2 separate regions of the Homo sapiens genome follow, and region 1 is linked to region 2. The links are contacts of gene promoters, found by promoter capture Hi-C in human tissues and cell types (Jung and others, 2019). All regions are on one chromosome and are shown on one strand. The core of a region is centred on a gene start or on the middle of the fragment in contact, and the rest is flanking DNA. Distances in the headings are between cores, read along the strand shown. Region 1 overlaps LOC124904078 (a long non-coding RNA gene). Region 2 holds the start of NPTX1 (neuronal pentraxin 1).

Region 1 (5,843 bases), core at 2,723-5,222, 540 kb after region 2:
AGTTAACGCTGGAATCAGTTAAGATTTTGGGGGATTCTTGGGAAGGCATGATAGTATTTTGCAATGTAGGAAGGACGTGAGATTTGGGAGGGGTCCCGGGTGGAATGATATAGTTTGGATATTTGTCCTCACCCAAATCTCATGTTGAATTGTAATCTCCAGTGTTGGAGGTGGGGCCTGGTGGGAGGTGTTTGGGTCATGGGAGCTTGGGCCATCCCTTGGTGATAAGTGAGCTGTCTCTCTGAGTTCACACGAGATCTGGTCATTTACAAGTGTGTGGCACCTCCCCCATCCCCCCACTTGCTCCTGCCTTTGCCATGTGATGTCCCTCCTCCTGCTTTGCCTTTGACCATGATTGGAAGCCTCCTGGGGCCTCTCCAGAAGCAGATGCCGCTGTGCTTCCTGTACAGCCTGCTGAACCACGAACCAATAAGCCTTTCTTTATAAATGACCCCGTCTCAGGTATTTCTTTATAGCAGTGCAAGAATGACCTAATACAAAAAGACAATCAACAGGCCGGGAGTGATGGCTCATTCCTGTAATCCCAGCACTTTGGGAGGCTGAGGCAGGCAGATCACTTGAGGTCAGGAGTTCAAGACCAGCCTGGTCAACATGGTGAAACCCCATCTCTACTAAAAATACAAAAATTAGTCGGGCATGGTGGCGTGCACCTGTAATCCCAGCTACTCAGGAGGCTGAGGCAGGAGAATCACTTGAACCCAGGATGGGGAGGTTGCAGTGAGCCAAGATCACACCACTGCACTCTAGCCTGGGCAGCAGAGCCAGACTGCATCTCAGAACAAACAAGTAAAAGGATGGGGAAAATATATCACAGAAACCCTAATCAAAAGAAAGATGGAGTAGTTGTGTTAATATCAGGCAATGTATATTCAAAACAAATATCAACAGGGATAATGAGAGACATTACTCAATAATAAAAGAAGGCAAAACAATCCAAATTGTGTATTCACCTAACAATAGAATTTCAAAACACATGAAGCAAAAACTAACAGAAATGAAAGGTAAAACAATTTCTTACAGTTAGAGACTTTCACCCTCCTCTTTCAGTATTTTGTTGTTGTTTTTAGTCAGGGTCTTGCTCTGTCACCCACGCTGGAGTGCAGTGGCACAAACATGGCTCACTGAAGCTTCAACCTCCTGGGCTCAAGTGATCCTTCTGCCTCAGCCTCCCGAGCAGCTGGGACTATAGGTACATGCCACCACACCTAGCTAATTTTTTTTTTTTTTGAGACAGAGTCTCGCTCTGTCGCCCAGGCTGGAGTGCAGTGGCGTGATCTCGGCTCACTGCAAGCTCCACCTCCCGGGTTCACGCCATTCTCCTGCCTCAGCCTCCTGAGTAGCTGGGACTACAGGTGCCCGCCACCTCACCCGGCTAATTTTTGGTATTTTTAGTAGAGACATGGTTTCACCGTGTTAGCCAGGATGGTCTCGATCTCCTGACCTCGTGATCCGCCCGCCTCGGCCTCCCAAAGTGCTGGGATTACAGGCGTGGGCCACCGCACCCGGCCACTAATTTTTTTATTTTTGTAGAGACGGGCTCTTGTCATGTTACCCAGGCTGGTCTTGAACTCCTGGGTTCAAGTGAACCTCCTGCTTTGGCCTCCCAAAATGCTGCGATTACAGGCATAGTCTACTGTTCCTGGCCCCTCTTTCAGTAATTGAGAGAATAAATAGAAAATCATGAAGGATATAGGACACCTGAACACTGTTAACTGGTTTGACTCAGCTGACATTTATAGAACATTCCACCCAGCAACAGCAGAATACACATTCTATTCAAGTGCATATTGGACATTTACCAAGACATATCATGTTCTGGACCATGAAATAAACCTTAACTAATTTAAAGGAATTGAACTCACACAAAGCATGTTCTCTGACCATAATATCAATCCAAAAGCCAGTAACAAAGAGCTATCTGGAAAATCCACAAATATTAAATTAACCTGTGAGTTAAATAGAAAATCACAAGGGAATTTAGAGGCTGTTTCTAACTGAAAGAAAATGAAAACTAAACATATTAACATTTATGGATTCTTGCTAAAACAGTGTTTAGAGGAAAACTTAGAATATTAAATGCTTATGTTAAGGTAGAAGAAAAGTCTGAAATCAGTTAGCTAAACTTTCACCTTAATTAATTCAAAAAAGAAGAGCAGATCCAAAGCAAGCAGGAGAAAAGAAACAATAGTGAGTGGACATCAGCAGAAATGAAAACAGAACATCAGAGAAAAATCAGTGAAAGCAAAAACTGGTTATTTGAAAATATCAATAAATTTGAAAAGCTTCAAGCTAGAGTGATCAGGAAAAAAAGAGAAGATACAAATTACAACATTAGCAATGAAAGTGGGAACACCACCCCAGACCCTATAGACATGAAAAAGATATTAAGGAAATATTACAGCTGGGCACGGTGGCTCACGCCTGTGATCCTAGCACTTTGGGAGGTCGAGGCGGGTGGATCACAAGGTCAGGAGTTTGAGACCAGCCTGGCCAAAATAGTGAAATGCCATCTCTTCTAAAAATACAAAAAAAATAGCCGGGCATGGTGGCAGACACCTGTAATCCCACTTACTTGGGAGGCTGAGGCAGAAGAATCACTTGAACACAGGACGTGGAGATTGCAGTGAGCCACGATCACGCCATTGTACTCCAGCCCGGGTGACAGAGTGAGACTCCATCTCAAAAAAAAAAAAAAAAAGAAAGAAAGAAAAAAGTAAATATGAAATATTACAAACAGTTTTATGCTCATAAATTTGACAATTTAGATTTAATGGGAAAATTCCTTGAAAGACTCAAACTGCCAAAGTTCACTCAAGATTAAATAGGTAAACCAAATTGTCATATGTCTATTAAATGCTACCAAACATTTAAGGAAGACTTAATACCAATTCTACACAAACTCTTAAAGAAAATAGAAGAGGAGAGAACACTTTGCAATTCCTTTTATGAGTTCAACATTACCTTGACCCTAAGACCACATAAGGCCATTACAAGAAAAGCAAACAGACCAATATCCCATATGAACCTAGATGCAAAATCCTCAACTCATTATTAGCAAATAATCCAGCAATATATAAAAATGAGTCTTTATCCTGAAGTAATCTATTTATTCTGGGACAAACAAAATGAGGTTTATCCTGGAAATGCAAGGTTGGTTCAACCTTCAAACATCAGTATCATTCATCGTATCAACAGACTACAAAAAAAAGAATCTTATGATATCTCAATAGATGCAGGAAAAGAATTTGACAAAATTCAACATCCGTTTGTGATAAAAACTCTTAGCAAACTATGAATAAAAAACAACTTCCTTAACTTTTCAGAAGGCATCACAAAAACCCTACAGATAACATCACACTTAATGATAAAAGATTGGATGCTTTCCCCATAAGGAAGGAAACAAGGCAAGGGCGTCTGCTGTCACCACATCTATTCAGCATCATACTGGAGGCCCCGTTCAGTGTAATAAGCAAGAAAATAATAAAATGAACACATATTGGGAAGGAATAAATACACAACTGTCTCTATTTGTGGACAGCATGACTACATAGAAAATCTCAAAGGAGTCTACTAGAACAAATTAGAACATCACAGAATACTAGGTCAGTGTACAAAATGAAATGTGTATTTCTATTTGCTAGCAAGGAACAATTGGAAACTGAAATTAACATTTTATTTATTTTTATTGACTTACATTTTTAGAGACAGAGTCTTCCTCTGTTGCCCAGGCTGAGTGCAGCGGCATGATCACAGCTCACTGCAGCCTCAAACTCCTGGGTACACGTGATCCTTTGGCCTCAGCCTCCTAAGTACAGGTATGTGCCACAATGGCCAGCTAATATCTTTTTTTAGAAACAGGGTCTCACTATGCTGCCCAGGCTGGTCTTGAACTCCTGGGCTCAAGCGATCTTCCTGCCTTGGCCTGCCAAAGTGCTAGGATTATGGATGTGAACCACTGCACCCAGCCTATTTTATTTTTATTTTTTTAGAGATAGGGTCTTGCTCTGTTGCCCAGGCCGGAGTGCAGTCATGCAACCATAGCTCATGGTAACCTCAAACTCCTGGGCTCAAGTGATCCTCCTGCCCCGGCCTCCTGAGTAAGTGAGACTACAGGCATGCACCACCATGCTCAGTGCATGCCTTTTTTTTTTTTTTTTCTTTAAGGTGAGGTCTCCCCGTGTTTCCTAGGCTGATCTGGAACTCCTGGGCTCAAGTGACCCTCCCACTTTGGCCTCCTAAAGTGCTAGGATTATAGGCATGAGCCACTGTGCGTGGCCTGAAATTAACATTTTAAACATGGGGAAACAGACTTCTACTTCCAAGTAGGATGGAGTGCAGCAGATCAAGGCTCCCACTAAGAACTAGAAAGGCCAGGCAAAAATATAAAAATCATCTCTTTAATGGCATCAGAAAGCTACAGAAGCAACAAAGACTAAAGGGGTTAAGCCTCAAAAGAGGAGGGTTCCGTAGGATAAGCAGACCATCTGCAGCCCGCAGTTCCCAAGTGCTTGTTCGTGCTGGGATTAATGACACACGGGAGATTCGAAGGGCAGCTAATCTTGGCAAGAATGAAGACGCGAAAGCTGATCTCTTCTTCAAGACTGTGGCAGGACTGGAAGCTGCGTGAAAACGCTGGTTGAAGAGCTAATTTGAAACTTCCGGAAGGCAGAGCAGAATTGTTTACCTCGCTCAGGGCTAAGGAAGGGGAGGGCTCTAGTTGTCCACAGCAAACTGTCTGTTAATTTCCTGGAGGATTAGTTCCTAGAAACAAGCAACACAGAGATAGGCTCACCGAAAGGGCAGCTTGTCCTCAGCTCAGCTCAGTCCCTGATTGGAGCGAGGAGGTCACCCTCCTTACCGAGGAAATGGGGGACCCTCTCCGCCGGCTGGAACACAGCGTCATCCAGAGCAGGCTCTGCCCATCTTTTCCTTAGCCGGGTAGTAGAAGTGGCCTCTGCCTACTGAACCGTGCTGCTGTAGGGCACACGCAGCCACAGAGCATCTGTGAACAAATGGGCATGGGTGTGTTTCAATACGCTGCGTTCACAAAAGCAGGCGGCTGCCCCCCGCTGCAGTTTGCTGACCCCGGATCTGGAGTCTCCAGGCTTCAGCGCATGACATCCAGCATTCAGAGACCACAGGGCCAAAAATCAAGAGGAAAAATAGCCCGTGGAAACGGATGCACACAAAGCCAGAGAGTGGAAGTCGCAGCAGAGAACCCCTGAACTCTCTGTGAGTTTTTGTTTAGAGTTCGAACTCTGTGCGTTTTTGTTTAGATGGAGGAAGCAAGGGAGAAAGTAGATGAAAAGGTGGAGATTTTTCAGCTGAGAACTGGAATCCATATAACACAAAACTTTTTTTTTTTTTGAGACGGAGTTTCACTCTTGTTGCCCAGGCTGGAGTGCAATGGCGCAATCTTGGCTCACCGCAACCTCCGCCTCCCAGGTTCAATCGATTCTCCTGCCTCAGCCTCCCTAGTAGCTGGGATGACAGGCATGCGCCACCATGCCTGGCTAATTTTGTATTTTTAGTAGAGACGGGGTTTCTCCATGTTGGTCAGGCTGGTCTCGAATCCCCGACCTCAGGTGATCCGCCCGCCTCAGCCTCCCAAAGTGCTGGGATTACAGGTGTGAGGCACCGCTCCCGGCTTATAACACAAAACATTTAAGAATCTGCAAACCCCAAGTTTTCCTGCCATGGCAGGTCTGAGCACAAGGCAGCCGGGAGAGGTTTAATCCTGGGTGAGTCAGGCCGAGTTCCAGTTATCACACTGAGAATCACCCAGTAAATGAAGCTGCTGTGACCAAAGTGACCAAAGGCTG
Region 2 (5,757 bases), core at 2,036-4,535:
GCCACATGCAGACAGTGAAGGCGTACATCTCTGGCAGGCTCTTCTTCACCTTGGCATACATATAGTTGGTCCGCAGTGGGAATGTGAGCTGGAACTTGTCTCCAGGGCGGTTGTCTTTCTGACCTGCGGAAGACACAGTCCTGACATCTGCACCTGCGTGAAGTGCTTATCGGTGTCTGAGTTGAGTTCGGTCCCCACCAAGCTCTGTGATGCGTGGCCAGGGCAGGCTCCGGTCTCCATTCTGGAGACGCAGAGCGGGTAGCTTCCCAGGTCAAGTACTTTGCCCCAAGGCACAGGGCCAGTCTGTAAAGAGCTGACCCAAGCTCTTCATGCTCCAGGTCTGGCCTGCTGTCACGCCCATGTGCTGGCATCCTTGGGGAGATGGGGGTGGGGGGCAGTGCCTGGTGGGCTGCTGCATCAACACTGGGCTGCGTGGTGGGCATGAGAAGGGAATGGGGACAGCCGCCAAGCCAAGTCAACCCAAGGAGCAGGGGTGGCTGCAGAGGAGGAACGAGGCTAGCTACCCTGAGAGTAACCGACCTGATTCCAGGATGGGGCGGGGCTCAGAGCCTCTCCTCGCTCAATCCCAGGCTCTGCTCCTGCCTCTCCCCACCCGACAGCCAGGCCCTGGTGCCCACACACTTCCCTCCAGGCCAGATGTGCCTCTGACCCACCAATGCCTCTTGGGTGTGAGGCTGGGCAGCTCCCCACCTCCAAGGCCCTTCCTTGGAGCAGGGACTCTGCCTGGAGCTCTGCTGAGAGGGCAGGGCAGCAAGGAGCTGGGAGTACTCTGGGCGCCAGGGCTCCCCAAGGTGACTGCTCTAGGATGCCGCCACACTCTCAGGTGAGTAAGTGTCCTCACAGCTCAGGTTCCAGGCCTGGTGGCCTCCCTTTCCACAAGGCCCACCTTCTCCCTCCCCACCGGCCACTTCTCCCGTAAGCGCCAACCCCCATAGCCCATCTATATACTGTGGCACCCTGGGTATGGTGTGACTGACTCCAGGCAAAACATTCCTGGCCAGCAATGGGCACAGTAGCAGGCCCAGAGCCCAGGAACACACACCCCTTGGTCAATCCCTGGGTGAGCAGCCGTGGTCCTGCCAGGAAGCCCAGAAAGAAACCAGTTCCCCAGGCCAAAAATTATTTCTAGAAGACATCCTGCCCGGTCAGCAACCACCCCCTCCTCTAAACCAACTGGCAGGGAGCAGAGCAGGGCAGGCCCCCTCAGTGCAGCACCCCAGCGGCTACCCCAACCCATTGAGGCCTGCAGTGGGGGATAGGGAGGGGCCCAGCCCCTGGCCTTTCTCCGGGTGTTTTTCATTCCCCAATCTCCGCTCCTTCCCTCTCCCTCCCTCCTGAGGTCCTTCCTTCTGATCTGTTTTTCAGTTACATAACAAGCCTTAAGATGGCACTGTTTAAATCTGTCCGGCACATTTTGCGGTCTGAGCAGGGTCACGTGGCCTTGCTCCGCACCGGGCACCCCCCCCCCTCCCCTTTTACAACCTTGTTTGATTTCTGCGACTTCAAGACAGAGCCTCCAGCGCTCATCCAGGCGCCCTGGGTGATAGACTGGCTGGCCTGAGTTGGTGACTGAGAAACCTCAGGGATTTGAAAGATGCCAGGACTTGGGTCACTCAGAAAAGAAAACCTCAGGGTAGGGGTTCAGGACAGAAGTGGGGAGGAGCTGGAGATCCTGAGAGGACACCGGGGGCATGGCAGCCGGGAAGAAACCTGCTTAACAGCCTCAGCGGCCCGGGGAACGAGAGCGCCCAGCCCCAGCCTGCACCCAGCTGTACGCTGAGGCTGGGGACCAGGGAGAGACAGGCTTTCTTAAGCAGGGAGGGTTTGAGCCAGCGACAGCCACTGTGCAAAGTTACTGAGGATTAAACAAATCAGACTTGAAAAATCCAGCGAGTGTGTGAGTGTGTCTGGATGGGGGAGGGGGCACTATGCAATCCCCTTTCCCAGAGACAGCCCCAGCCCAAGGCACCCAGCCCTGATAGAAACACCGACTAGAAGCCCAGAACCTGGGAAGGGGTGCGGGGAATGAGAAAGCGGTGCAGGGGTTGGGGGTAGCGGAGCGGCTTGAGGCTTGCACAGTGCAGAGCTGGGCTGTTAGGGATCGGGACCGAGGCAGGGTCGGGCAAGCAGGTGCAGGCAGGCAGCACGGCTCCCCCTGGCCCCAGTACCTTTCTCGAGCTCGCTGATCCGCTGGTGCAGGGAGGTCAGGGCGGTCTCGATCTTGACCCTCTCCTCGGTGTCGTTCCTGGGGCCCCCCTTGCCCTCCTCCAGGGTGTTCACCCGGGACAGCACCTGCCTCTCCAGCTCATCGATCTTGCTCTGCAGCAGATCCTTGAGGCTGTTGGTCTGGCTGGAGGAATTGAGGCGGCTGTACTGCTGCGGGGTGCAAGGGCGGGGGAAACCACACCGTTAGGCGAGGCGCGGGGACCGTGCTGGAAGGCCCGCGGCGCGGTCCCCTCTGGGCGACTGCGGGGGCGGCCTGGCAGGGAGCTGGGGCGAGTGGCCGCCGCGGGGCCTCGCAGGCGCGGGGAGGCACCGGCCGGGCACCCGCGCGGCTGAGGCGAGGGCGGGGGATGCCTGGCCGGGTAGGGAACGGGGTGGGGGAGGGCAGAGGGGCGAGCGAGCCGGAGGGGGAACCGGAGCCGAGGGCGCGCGCGGACCTCGAGGTTCTCCAGGCGGGTTTTGAGCGATTGCAAAGTTTGCCCGAGTTGGCTGAGCGTCTCGGCGGCCGGTGTCCGGGACAGGTCGCCCATGGTGTTCTTGCCCGAGCCGGGCTGCTTGCGGCCGCCGCCCGCCCGGGCCTCGCCGGCTCCGGGGTCCAGCGTGCTCTGGCTCTCGCAGCGGCCCAGCTTGGCGGTCAGCTCGCGGATGGTCTCCTTCTGGCTCAGGATGGTCTCCTTCTGCTGCAGCACCGTCTCGCGGAGCTGCAGCACGCTGCTCCGGAGCTCCTCGGCGCCGCCGGCGGCCACGGACGCGGCGCACATGTCGGCGTCCACGGGCACCGAGGTGCAGATGAAGCGCGTCGGCCCGAAATCCTGGGCCCCGGCGCCCAGGAGGCAGAGGGCGAGCAGCGCACAGGTGCGCGCGGCGCGGCCGGCCGGCATGGCTGCGGGCACCGGGCGCTCCGGGCCCGGCTCGGCTCGGCTGGGGCTCGGCTCCGGCTGGGACCCGGCTCGGGCTGTGGCTCCGCGAGCGGCCCGCGCTCTGGGCGCCGCGCTCTTCGGCCGCGCGGTCCACACCGCCGCGCTATCAGGCCCCCACTGCCGCCTGCGCTGCGGAGCCCGCGCCTTTTATGCCGCCGCGGGAGGGGCCTCGAGCCGCCGACGTCAGCGGGGGAGGAATCCCGCTTTAATTGTCCGCGGCCCGGGCCCGCGGCGCGGCGGGGGTCTCACGAGCGCGCCACCGGGGCTGCCTCCGCTCGCGTCCCCCCCGCCCTTCTGGGAGCTGCCGCGGCCCCCTCCTCCCCCGCCCCCGCCTGGGCCGGCGCTGCTGCCCCGAAGGCTCCGAGAGCTCAGGGGGAAGGAAGTCGGGCTCCGGCCCCGGACTCGAGGATGGACCACCTGCGTGGTGTCCCCGAACCTCCGACGGGGCTCCAGGCGGGCGGGAAACCACCGCGTCCGGGAGATAGAATTCGGTTCGGCCCTCCTGGCTGCACTGAACACCCTTGGGCCGGGGTCGTTTGGAGCCGGGCTGGGTGCCCAAGGACCCAGGTCGTCAACACCCGAGTGCCCGGTGGTCAACGGCTCGGAGTGGGGCCTCGCGGCGCCACTAAGTCCAGAGCGGGGGTCACCGGGCCGCCCCGCGTTTCTTAGATGTCCGTGTGCTATTGAGAAGCCGCCGGGCAGCCTGGGTACAGGGACTTCCCACGGGTCGGGGCCCCCGGCGCCTCCCCTCCCCCAGCTCCCGGGCTCTGTGGACCCGGCCCCGTCCCCGGGGGACTGTCAGTCCCCACCCCGTGCGGGCGGGGCGCTGGGGACTTCTCGGAGGCAGACCTAGCTGATCGAGCCTTTCCTGTCCGCGGCGCCGGCCCGATCGCGGGCAGGCGGCGTCGCCGGGGCTGGACGTTCGCAGCGGCGCTTCGGAAGGGGGCCCCGCGGGAGCAGCCGCCCGCGTCTCCAGCAGCTTCCCCTTGCCAGGCGCCGCGCGCGCCCGGTATCCCCGGGTGTCCACCTGTGCGTGGGGGGCTGTTTCCCGTCTGTCCAGCCGCGCCCACTTCTCAGGCCCAAAGGCCAGCAGGAAGGGTCCCGGAGGTGGCTGGGGGCGTCCACCTGAGAAGCTCCGCTCTCGCTCAGACACCCCACCCGGCACCCGCGCACTCGCGCCTTCATCTGGACCGCGGGGCTCGGCTCCCGAGATCGCGGTCCGGGTTCCGGCGCCGGGCTGGGGGCTCAGGACCAGGGCTGGCGCAGCCGCCCCGCCCCGCCCCGCCCCGGGGCTATCAGAGCGGTCAAAGCCTCGGAAATCCCTCCGTCCACGCTCCCGTGGTACAGAGAAGGAAACTGAGGCTCCGAGACTGCGGGGCCGGGCTACAGCCGTGGCCCCCCGACCCCTCCCCGCCGCCCCCGGCTTCTCTGGTCTCTGCGTTCTGCAGCCTTTCCCTGCGCGCAGCCGGGGGCTGGGGGTCCCCAGCCAGCAGGGACCCACGGGCAGTCCCGGGTGCCGGGATCGGGCGTCCGCCCCTCGGGCGGGAGCAGAGGCCGGCTCGATGGAGACCTTTTTGAGAAATGGCGGCCTCTACCCGCCCCCCAGCCCCCGAGCGCCCGCCGTCTGCGTTCAGCATCTCAGCTTTTAAGCCTCCCTGAGCCGGGGCTGCGTTCTCGTTGTCTCCTTCGGCCGCCGCTTCCTGGCGCCAGAGGGACCCCGCGGCCCGCACGGGCCTGTCCTCGGCTCCGCTCGGAGGGTGTGCGGGTTCCCGCTCCGCTGGCCCCGCTTGCCCACCACGGCGCGCCCAAACCCACGCGGCCCGCGGCCCCTTGCGTGCTCTGCCGACCCCGGGCCGCAGGAGGGGTTAGCCTCGCCGGTCCCCACGCGGGGTCTGCGCCGGCAGCGCCACGGGCTGGAACGCGCCTCGGGAGAAATTACCCGCGCGGGGTCGCGGCGTCTTCTGCCCCAACTCCCGTAGGGAGCCGCTAGGCGGGTGCCCTCCTGGCCCCAGCGCTTTGGCCTCGCCGCCCTCCCGCACGCGTCCAGTGGGGAGGCCGCGCCCGTCAGGCCTGGAGCCGGACCGTGCCCAGCCGAGAGCGCGCGGGCGCGGGAGAGGAGCCCTGCCCTGCCCAGGGCAGGCTGTTTAGACGGGGCGGGAACCCTTAGCCTGGCCCCGCGTCTCTATCCCCAGCAGCCGTGGAGCCTTCCTAGCCGCCCAAGGCCAGGGACCCTGCCTGGCTTTTCCTCCAGGGCAGCAGATCTCAGCGGCCTGGCACCTCGGCACAGAGGAGCGTGTCCCCCTTCCGCAGAGGAAGGGAGTGGACGGCGTCAGAAAGGGAGGGGAGCCTGGGGCGGTGTCTGGGGCTAGCGGGACCTCTGGGCACTGTGGGGCCCCAGGAGAGGAGACCCTCGGGTCCAGCCTGCAACTGTTGTGCAGGAGGCGCTGGGCGGGACACCTGCAGGCGCTGCACACACACGCGAGGGCCACCATGCCGCGTTTCTCCTTCACAAGACCCTGGGCAAGCGGAGGGTCGTATTTAGGATTCCCTCGGCCTCCCCAGTGTTCTGAAAGTATCTGAGAGGGAGGGAGCA

The links. Contacts are between HindIII fragments. The study calls those that stand out against the background at their distance.
Region 1: a fragment that was not itself captured here is called in contact with the fragment with the promoter of NPTX1 in region 2 in 2 of the 25 tissues and cell types used here (IMR-90 fibroblasts and lymphoblastoid cells).

The regions. Positions count from the first base shown.
Region 1 is chr17:81,013,567-81,019,409 of GRCh38, forward strand. LOC124904078 (a long non-coding RNA gene) reads right to left here. Exons shown (of 2, transcript XR_007065934.1): 1 at 4,880-5,843; 2 at 4,403-4,782. LOC124904077 (translation initiation factor IF-2-like) reads left to right here. Exons shown (of 1, transcript XM_047437254.1): 1 at 1-451. Among named protein-coding and RNA genes, the nearest start is that of BAIAP2-DT, 18 kb to the right of the region's middle. The HindIII fragment of the contact is 4,495 bases long and covers 1,726-5,843 here.
Region 2 is chr17:80,473,322-80,479,078 of GRCh38, forward strand. It overlaps NPTX1 (neuronal pentraxin 1), which reads right to left and starts at 3,286. Exons shown (of 5, transcript NM_002522.4): 1 at 2,682-3,286; 2 at 2,190-2,397; 3 at 1-123. The coding sequence starts at 3,125. RefSeq lists an enhancer at 1,740-2,273. The HindIII fragment of the contact is 30,247 bases long and covers 1-5,757 here.